Regions from separate parts of the Homo sapiens genome. Here region 1 is linked to region 2. Evidence: promoter capture Hi-C in human tissues and cell types (Jung and others, 2019). All regions are on one chromosome and are shown on one strand. Each heading gives the region's core, a stretch centred on a gene start or on the middle of the fragment in contact. The rest is flanking DNA. Distances are from core to core; before and after follow the strand shown. Region 1 has its middle 12 kb from the start of TRIM61. Region 2 holds the start of TRIM60 (tripartite motif containing 60).

Region 1 (5,260 bases), core at 2,744-5,243, 41 kb before region 2:
ACAACCTATACTGATTTTCTTCTCACCTCACTATCCTGAGCGCTGGAGGATTTGATGCTGGCAGGCATCACTGGCAGGAAGAAGTAAGAAACACAGGACACCGGGCTACAGGAGTGTGCAGGGAGTCTCTTCAGCGATGCTCTGACATCAGCATCACTCAGTGAGGGCTAGTGGCAAGTTCAGCTCTAGATTAGTCCATGTGGCACAAGGGACACGGGAGGACTGGCGCACGTTGACATTTTTTCTGGATTTTGCGTTTGGAAAGGTTTCATTCTACAATAATAACAATAGACTCCAAATGTATACCTTCCCTGATACTTTTACAGAAAACCTTTGGCCTTATATCACTACTACACCTACTTCAAATATTTTACAGTCTGTGGAATCTAAGATGAATGATGAATGACCTGGAAGGCTATTCACATCTTGTTTAATTTTTTTTTTTTTGAGACGGAGTCTCACTGTTGCCCAGGCTGGAGTGCAGTGGCGCAATCTCGGCTCACTGCAAGCTCCGCCTCCCAGGTTCACGCCATTCTCCTGCCTCAGCCTCCCAAGTAGCTGGGACTACAGGCTCCCACCACCTTGCCCGGCTAATTTTTTGTATTTTTAGTAGAGACGGGGTTTCACCGTGTTAGCCAGGATGGTCTTGATCTCCTGACCTCATGATCCCCCCGCCTCGGCCTCCCAAAGTGTTGGGATTACAGGCGTGAGCCACCGCGCCCGGCCTTCTTTAATATTTTTTCCATGTTCCTGAAAGTATTTCCGGACATTGTTTAACCTCAGTTAATTGTTAGGATTAATTATGTTACAAGAGTTAGGGTGTTTTTTTGTCAATAAGCAGATGAAAATTATTTTTTTCATTGGTTCCAAAAACTAGTTATAATATATGAATTATAATATAATTAGAATATTCTAATCAGAATATTCTACTTCACAGAAATTATGTGGGAATCAGTTACAAAATGGTTTAGCAATTCCAAAAGGGAAGACTCTAGAAATATAACTTTTTCTTGCCAATTTTGTATTCTCAGTGCCAATAAATGTATTTCACCATGTTTACTAATTTTGTATTGTCATGTGTCCTATATGTTATGTATGTAAGAAGCTTCAGAAGAAGCTTCTTAAGAAATTAATGCTTGGTAGGAGTTTCAGGATCTGTATATGTGGAGAAGTCTTGTACCTCCTGTGCTGTTGCAGAAAGGTAAGTTAATTGATTTCTGTGTTGGGGGCTTTCTAACACTAATCTCAGAATCAGTGAAATGCTAGAAGGACTCAATGAACTTGGAAACACTGGTACATTCTGAGTCCCAATTTATTGTGGTGAAAGGCTGTAGATTAAAATTAATAATGAAAAAATGTACATAGGGCAGGGTCCAGGAGACAGCAGGCATAAGCTCTAGTTGTCTTCTTCCGTAACATGTAAGTGAAGAGAAAAAATATAAGCTAGTCTAGGATATGTAGTAATACTACTGTGTGAATACACACCCATACATGAAAAAGTCTGTGTGATGGAAGAATGATTTCAAAATAAATCTAAATCTGTGTGGAATCATGGATGGGTGATTTTTACTTTTTCCTTTCACTTTACTAGTTCTGGGTCACAGTCAATTAACAAAAATATTATCCAAACCCCTACTGTGACTGTTTACTATTTGCTAAGTCTTTGCTTTCTCATTAAATTCTAATTCAACTGTGAGGCCAGCACTGTTTCTAGGAGCCGGGCTCCTTAGTGCAAATGGGAGAAAGTACTATAGTGCATTTGGAATGTTCTCAAGCACAGCCAGTGAGTGTGAAGAGTAGGATTTTGTAAATTTTAAAAAATATGTATTACTTGAAAACAAAAGTATTACTGGGAGTCATGGACTAGATGTTTGCATCCCCCTAAAATTCACATGTCCAAACCCTGACTCTCGATGCAATTGTATTAGGAGATGAAATCTTTATCAGGTAATTAGGTTTCGATGAGGTCCTAAAGGAGGAGCCCCCATAATGGGATTAATATCTTTTTGAGAAAAGGAAAAGAATTCCCAGGTACCTCACTCTGCCTTGTAAGGTTATAGCACTAAGGCAGCCTGCAGGCCAGAAGAGGGCCCTCACCAGAAGCCCACCAGGCTGACACCCTGATCTTGGGATTGTCCACCCCTGGAATTGTCATAATTAAATGTCTCTTGTTTAAACCACCAAGTCTATTGTAGTTTTTTATAGCAGCCCAAGCTGAGTAAGACACTGGGTAAAAAATATTAGCAAAAAGCTTGTGATCTAGCAGCTGCTACCTCAAAAATCACTGGTATTAAATTACCTTCCCAGTCTTCACCCATTATTCACTCTGGGTGAGTTATTACCTCATTTGCCTGAACTACCGGTCCACAACTTTTAGCACGTTGTATTTTAGAAAATGTATAAGCACAGATGGGGGCTTTGAGCTCTATGTTTTCAAAGACTTATTTCTGTATTCCTGGTCCAATAGTAGGATGGTATAATAAATCTTGATAGCAACTAGGAAAATACATCTTCTCTGTATGTACTTCCTTATTTAGAATGGCTTCGATGCCTCCTGGACAATTACTTTGGCATAGGAATTTTACTATCACCAGATACACATCACCAGAGTTCTTGTAAACATTTGCTTGAAAACACATGAAATTTATATATTAACTGGAGAGAACTGAGACCCTCAAACTCAAGATCCTATTGAAGGTAAGTAACTTAGACTGAGGGTGAATCTTATTTCTTGATTTTAAGTCAATAACAAGGGAATGTTGTTAGCTCAGCACAGCTCCCTCCCAACTCAGACTCCACCGTCCAATGTCCCAAACCTCACCGCGCTTGAGGAGCAGGCTGGGTTGAATATTGAGCACCAGCTTCATGAAACTCCTGTCTGATCACTTCTACTTCTGGAAAGCTCACTTGTATTCTCGGAGTTTCCTTAGCTGTGTTAATTTAAATATATCTATATTGATGTTTTCCCCTCTCTAACAACCATATATTTCCACAGGAATGGTGTGGGGAAAAGCAAGAGAGATCAGATTGTTACTGTGTCTGTGTAGAAAGAAGTAGACATAGGAGACTCCATTTTGTTCTGTACTAAGAAAAATTCTTCTGCCTTGAGATGCTGTTAATCTGTAACCTTACCCCCAACCCCTTGCTCTCTGAAACATGTGCTGTGTCAACTCAGGGTTAAATGGATTAAGGGCGGTGCAAGATGTGCTTTGTTAAACAGATGCTTGAAGGCAGCATGCTCATTAAGAGTCATCACCACTCCCTACTCTCAAGTACCCAGGGACACAAACACTGCAGAAGGCCGCAGGGACCTCTGCCTAGGAAAGCCAGGTATTGTCCAAGGTTTCTCCCCATGTGATAGTCTGAGATATGGCCTCATGGGAAGGGAAAGACCGACCGTCCTCCAGCCCGACACCCGTAAAGGGTCTGTGCTGAGGAGGATTAGTAAAAGAGGAAGGAACCGCCTCTTTGCAGTTGAGACAAGAGGAAGGCATCTGTCTCCTGCCCATCCCTGGGCAATGGAATGTCTCGGTATAAAACCCGATTGTATGTTCCATCTACTGAGATAGGGGAAAACTGCCTTAAGGCTGGAGGTGCGACATGCGGGCAGCAATACTGCTCTTTAAGGCATTGAGATGTTTACGTGTATATATATCTAAAGCACAGCACTTAATTCTTTACCTTGTCTATGATGCAGAGACCTTTGTTCACGTGTTTATCTGCTGACCTTCTCTCCACTATTATCCTATGACCCTGCCACATCTGCCTCTCCGAGAAACATGCAAGAATGATCAATAAATACTAAGGGAACTCAGAGGCTGGCGGGATCCTCCATCTGCTGAACGCTGGTCCCCTGGGCCCCCTTATTTCTCTCTCTATACTTTGTCTCTGTGTCTTTTTATTTTCCAAGTCTCTCGTTCCACCTAAGGAGTAACACCCACAGGTGTGGAGGGGCAACCCCCCCCTTCAGAATGGAAGTACATGACAGCACTCCTTTAAAACAATATGGTATCTCTGAAATGTCCACATAGCTCCTGGAGATGCCACACAAGCCACTGGAAAGTGCTGCTCTCCAAATTTAGGAAATTAAAATCAGACAACACTGTTTCAGTTGCTGTTTTAATTGACTGGATCTTATTTAAATTTGGTGTGAGATGAATCCTGTTCTAATTCATACTGCACAGTTCAGGAAACTTGGTGCGGGAGGTTAGGTGAGTCCCAGGGCTATGCCGCCTCTGAGTGGGAGGAGCACCTGGTGCCTTCTCCTCTAAGCTGTAGCACCTGTGGCAATGGAGCACTGCTCCCAACTTCAGAAATAGAGCATTTGCTGTGTATTTTGTATTATTTGATAGCACCATTGTTGAGTGAAGCTTTGCCGGGGACCCTCAAACTCCAACCTCTTTTTGGTTCCCTTGAGGTTACCTTGCTATTCTGCCCTCAGACTGCTTTAAATATCACCTTAGGAATTAGGACAAGGCCGGGTGCAGTCGCTTAGGGCTGTAATCCCAGCACTTTGGGAGGCTGAGGCTGGTGTATCACCTGAGGTCAGGAGTTTGAGATCAGCCTGGCCAACATGGCAAAACCCCGACTCTACTACAAATACAAAAATTGTCCGAGCGTGGTGGCTCGCCCCTGTAATCCCAGCACTTTGGGAGGCCGAGGAGAGCAGATCACCTGAGTTCGGGAGTTTGAAACTAGCCTGACCATTATGGAGAAATCTCATCTTTACTAAAAATACAAAATTAGCTGGGCGTGTTGGCACATGCCTGTAATCCCAGCTACTCAGGAGGCTGAGGCAGGAGAATCGTTTGAACCCGGGAGGCGGAGGTTGAGGTGAGCCGAGATCACGCCATTGTACTCCAGCCTGGGCACCAAGAGTGAAACTCCATCTCAAAAGAAAAAAAAAATTAGCCGGGCATGGTGGCGAGCACCTGTAATTCCATCTATTCGGGTGGCTGAGGTAGGAGAATCTCTTGAACCCAGGGGTCGGAGGTTACAGTAAGCCAAGATTGTGCCATTGCACTCTAGCCTCGGCAACAAGAGGGAATTCCATTTCAAAAACAAAAAAGCAAACAAAAAAAGAATTATGGCAGGGCACGGTGTCTCACACCTGTAATCCCAGCAGTTTGGGAAGCTGAGGTAAGTGAATCACTTGAGGTCAGCCTGGCCAACATAGTGAAACCCAGTCTCTAGAAAAAACATAAGAATTAGCCGGGCATGGTAGTGGTGCGCCTGTATTCCCAGCTACTCAGGAGGCTGA
Region 2 (5,530 bases), core at 434-2,933:
CAGCCTTTGGTTTAATTTTATGGTGGAATCTGGCCCCATTCAGCCTTAAGCCTTTAGAGTTTCCTTTCCTTCATCCCATTGGTCAGACTCCAGATCAGTGTCCTCCCAACCACAGCCTTTATCATCCTCTCTGTTTGCATCTTCTGCACTAAGGTGTGAAGATTTGAAGATTTCACTTATTGTTCCCTGTTCCTACTTCCCACTCTTCCATCAAATCTCAGACTTCATCACAAGAGGGTATTTTTCTGGGAAGGTAGCTCTAAGTTATTTTATTTATTTATTTTTTATTTTTATTTTGAGACTGAGTCTCACTCTATTGCCCAGGCTGGAGTGCAGTGACCCGATCTTGGCTCACTGCAACCTCCGCCTCCCGGGTCCAAGCTCTTCTCCTGCCTCAGCCTCCCGAGTAGCTGGGATTACAGGCATGCACCACCATGCCCGGCTAATTTTTTGTATTTTTAGAGAGACGGGGTTTTGCCACTTTAGCCAGGTTGGTCTCGAACTCCCGACCTCAGCTGATCCGCCCGCCTTGGCCTCCCAAAGTGCTGGGATTGCATGTGTGAACCACCGCGCCTGGCCAAGTAGCCCTACATTTTAAACAGAAAAGTGCGCCGGCCAGGCGCGATGGCTCACGCCTGTAATCCCAGCACTTTGGGAGGCCGAGACGGGTGGATCACGAGGTCAGGAGATCGAGACCATCCTGGCTAACAGAGTGAAACCCCGTCTCTACTAAAAAATAGAAAAAATTAGCTGGGCGTGGTGTCGGGCGCCTGTAGTCCTAGCCACTCGGGGGGCTGAGGCAGGAGAACAGCGTGAACCCGGGAGGCAGAGCTTGCAGTGAGCCGAGATCGTGCCACTGCACTCCAGCCTGGGCAACACAGCGAGACTCCGTCTCAAAAATAAATAAATAAATAAAAAAGTGCTATGCCGATTCTATGACTTCTTCTGCAAATATTAGCCTCTTTCACTGTCTCATTTACCAAGTTATAAGACTTAAGAGGCTCCTCACAAGGACTAATCCTTCAGCCTTGAAGATTTTACCGTCAAGTTTGTCCAACAAACTCATACTCGTCCCTTAAAATCTACTTTAAATATCAATTCCTCAGACGAGACCTTGGTGAGTCTTAGTTGGTAGGGTGGGGCCTAATCTCCAGGGTGGTAACTACGCAGCCTCTCAACCAGAGACGCAAACTGATCCAAAGAGCTGATTATTCCTCTTGCATTTTAAAACTAACCACCCTGGCCGGGCGCGGTGGCTCACAGCGAGGCAGGCGGATCGCTTGAGCCCATGAGTTCGAGACCAGCCCGGGGAACGTGGCGAAACCCAGTCTCCACCAAAAAATACAACAATCAGCTGGGCGTGGTGGCGCGCGCCTGTGAAGTGGGAGGATCGTTTGAGCCCGGATGGTCGAGACTACAGTGAGCCGAGACCGCACCAGACCCTGTCTCAAAAAAAAAGAAAAAAAAAAAGTTGCTCATAGGAATGAAAAATCTGAAAAGATTGCCATTGTGATTTAAATGACCCACTGAAGCCATCAGGGACCCCACCACGGAGGGAACCGCCCTAGGCTCTCCTCAGAATCTTCTCACGCTCCCTGCACCCTGCGGCATTGAGCATGCTCAGGCCTTTCCCGCCCACTTCCGGTGGAGCAGCCAACCACCGCGCTGGTCAATTGTATGCCTAAAACTCGAAAACCAAGGCGCCCAGGGTTGTGTGAGGGTTTCCGCTCTGCGCCCCGCGGGGTTCCATGGGTCCTGCACAGCATCAGGCCTGAGCCGCCGGTCCAACTGCTCCAGGTAAGCTGGGAGGGCCGCAGGAAAGGCGCAGTAGGGCCTGGCGGGAGGCTTACTTAACTGGGCAGGGGCTTCCTGAGTATCAGCTGTGCCCAAACCTCGGGGTCGCGACCTGTCCACGACTGAGCTCAGACTGTGGATCCTTTTTTTTGTTTCTGAGACGGAGTCTCGCTCTGTCACCCACGCTGGAGTGCAGTGGCGCAATCTCGCCTCACTGCAACCTCCGCCTCCCGGATTCAAGCGATTCTCCTGTCTCAGCCTCCTGAGTAGCTGGGATTACAGGCGCTCGCCACCACACCCAGCTAATTTTTGTATTTTTAGTAGAGACGAGGTTTCTCCATGTTGGCCAGGCTGGTGTCGAACTTCCGACCTCAGGTGGTCCGCCCGCCTCGGCCTTCCAAAGTGCTGGGGTTACAGGCGTGAGCCACCGTGCTCGGCCGGATTCTGTTTTCGCCGCGGAGGCAGTGGGACCCCGATGATTGAACTTTAAAGAAGATTCTGATCTGAACACCAGTTTGGGAAGTGGCCACGTGATCTCCAAAAATTATGGTGGGAGCGTTAAGGAAGGACCTCCCACCCTACAGCGCCAGCACTTCTCTGGCGGATTTTGTCTCCTTCCGTCCTCACAAGGATCTGGCTGTCAGGAAACTGCTACGGATGAGAAAGTTTAGGCTCACTTACGTTTCGTATCATCTAAAGTAATAGAGGTTGAATCTTGAGATCTGGGAATCTCCCACAGGTTTGATTTATATTCACTGAGCCCACACTATGAACCAGCACAAGAATCAGAGTAGGAGCCAGGCGCGGTGGCTCACACCTGTAACCCCATGAGGAGGCCGATGCGGGAGGATCGCTTGAACCCAGGAGTTCTAGCTCACGCTCGTGCCTGGGCAACATAGTGAGACCCCTGTCTCTACAAAAAAAAAAAAAAAAATCCGGGCATGGTGGGGCGTGCCTGTGGTCCCAGCTACTCGGGAGGCTGAGGTGCGAGGATCGCTTGAGCCTGGAGGCAGAGGTTGCAGTGAATGGAGATCGCGCCACTGCACTCCAGCCTTGGCGACAGAGTGAGATCCTGTCTCAAAAAGTAAAATAAATAAGGTAATAGAGGTTGAATTTTTCTTTTTTAATGTGACAAGATCTCAAGCAGTAGAGGTTGAATTTTGAGAGTAGGGAATCTACTGCAGGTTTGATTTATTAGCCTAATAATTATTGAACACACGTTGTACACCAGCATAAGAATCAGAGTTGGTAATTCAGTTGTGAGGAAAATAAGGAAGAATTCAGACCGTGAACTGTACTCTCCAGTGTCCTTAACCAAAGGTTGACAAAAATAAATGTAAAAATCTCAACTGTAATCTGCAGTATGATAGATATGTGGAGTCAGGAAAAGAGTAAAGTCCAGATGTTGGTGAGTCTTGTAATACTTAAGAGTAAGAAAAGCCATTCCATTGGAAATCGGAAGGTTATAGGATTAGATCTGTGTTTGGAAACTATAGAGTTATGGAATTGATTGACGGGATAGAGCATGTCAAAAATAAAGCCAGACACTGGGTAGTCATAAGGACAGATTTTAATCAGTACTGTACTATTGCAATAGGGAGAATTCAGCATGAACAGAACTCAACTGTGATTTGTACAGAGGTGACCAAGTGCTTCAAAGGGGAACTGGGGAATGAAGGTAGTGAGTTGGCGCTCAGTAGAGTCAGGGAAGTGAAAAATTACAAAAAGTGGGAAAGGGGTGGTTGGGTCATGTGAAACACACCCAGGTTTGCTCACTGGCACTTAAGGAAGTCAGGCCCCAACTCTCCCATAGATGCTGGGAGACAGGGGCCTTGTCTTCAGGTATCAGAAGATAGTTACTATAGTAGGCTAATGTTTATAGCTTGGACTGAGAAGAGTGGCTTATAATGCTGTTCTTTAAACTTCATTGCCTGAGTCTGGAAGATGGGTTAGGGGAAGCTGGAGTGTGTGGGGAAGGACGAACCATTGAGTTCCAGGATCTATGCAGGAATGTTCCCTGCACCTTTTTATTTTAAATGAAATACACTTTTTTTTTTTTTTTAAGATGACTCTCACTCTGTCGCCCAGGATGGAGTGCAGTGGCGTGATCTCGGCTCACTGCAACCTCCACCTCCTGGGTTCAAGCAATTCTCCTGCCCCAGCCTTTCTGAGGAGCTGGGATTACAGGCGCACGCCACTACACCTGGCTAATTTTTGTATTGTTAGTAGAGACGGGGTTTCACCATGTTAGTCAGGCTGGTCTCGAACTCCAGACCTCATGATCCACCCACCTCGGCCTCCCAAAGTGCTGGGATTACAGGCGTGAGCCACTGCGCCCGTCCATGAAATACCCTTTTTTACAGCAATGTGGTTCTTTCTTATAATTTAAAAAATTCCAGTCATATTTTGCAATGTATTGGCTGTACAGCTTTGTTCAGAATGCTTAAAACTTCCTTTTCAAATTTACTCAGCCCCAAAGCATCCATTAAACATGGTGTGTTAAAACAAGGATTAGGAGCTTTTGCAATGACATTGTTATTTATGAAAATGTTAAATTGGAAGGTGGGAAGAGTTAAAGGACACATTATTATTTTATTTTAATTCCTTATGATTGAAAAATATTATAATTTTTAAGATGTAATAATACCTTACTGTCCCTTCAAAATTGGAATGTACATGACATTTTCTGCCCGACTACTGCTATGAACAGTTAACACCTTTTCTAATTAGGAGCAGTGAGAGATATAGTAGCTTTTAGACCAAAATAGTACTATACTATACATACTACGACAGTTAATGACATAAATGTAGGCAGTTTGGCTAGATTTCTAAATGCACTTTTCACTTGGAAATTTTATAAGATTTTGTAATAATACCTGTATTAGTATCCCCAAGACCACCCCTAGGTTTGGTGATTTGCTAAAATGACCACAGGAGTCAGCATAGTATTATTTGAGGTTATAACTTAATTTTTTTGAGGTATCTCTCTCTGTCACCCAGACTGGAGTATAATGGCACAATCATGACTCACTGAAGCCTTGAACTCCTGGGCTCAAGGAATCCTCTCACCCCAGCCTTCTCAGTGCTGGCACTATAGGGACATGCCACCATGCCTGGCTGATTTTCATAAAATTTTGTAGAGATGAGGTCTTGCTCTGTTGCCCAGACTGGTCTTGAGTGTCTGGCCTCAATTGATCTCTTGCCTCAGCCTCCCAAAGTGCTGGGATTACAGATGCGAACCACCGTGCCTGGCCAACAATTATGGTTTATTATAGTGAAAGGATACAAAGCAAAATCAGCAAAGGAAAATGGTGTGTGGGATGAAGTCTGGATGAAACCAAGCGTAAGCTTCCAAAAGTCCGCTCTGCGTGATGTCACACAGGACCTGCTTAGTTTCTCTGAAGACAAAGTGATAAATGAGTGAACTGTTACATACCAAAGATGCTCATTGAAGATTTGTCTTTCCGGAATTTTTATTGGGAAGAGATCATGCAGGCTCCTTCCTAGCTTATATCAAAATTCTAGTTTCTCAGAAGGAAAGCAGCTATTCATCATAAACCTCATTGTTTGTATAAACACTGTAGGTGTAGTAAGCCACTCTTTTTTCTTTTTTTCTTTCTTTTTTTTTTTTAGACAGAGTTTTGCTCCTGTTGCCCAGACTGGAGTGCAATGGTACTATCTTGGCTCACTGCAACCTCCGCCTCCTGGGTTCAAGCGATTTTCCTGCCTTAGCCTC

What was found. Contacts are between HindIII fragments. The study calls those that stand out against the background at their distance.
Region 1: a contact is called between a fragment that was not itself captured here and the fragment with the promoter of TRIM60 in region 2, in 3 of the 25 tissues and cell types used here (H1 embryonic stem cells, dorsolateral prefrontal cortex and neural progenitor cells).

What each region holds. Positions count from the first base shown.
Region 1 is chr4:164,987,382-164,992,641 of GRCh38, forward strand. No RefSeq gene overlaps it. Among named protein-coding and RNA genes, the nearest start is that of TRIM61, 12 kb to the left of the region's middle. RefSeq lists an enhancer at 3,617-4,310. The HindIII fragment of the contact is 5,765 bases long and covers 1,112-5,260 here.
Region 2 is chr4:165,030,316-165,035,845 of GRCh38, forward strand. It overlaps TRIM60 (tripartite motif containing 60), which reads left to right and starts at 1,684. Exons shown (of 3, transcript NM_152620.3): 1 at 1,684-1,797. RefSeq lists an enhancer at 1,186-1,842. The HindIII fragment of the contact is 10,604 bases long and covers 1-5,530 here.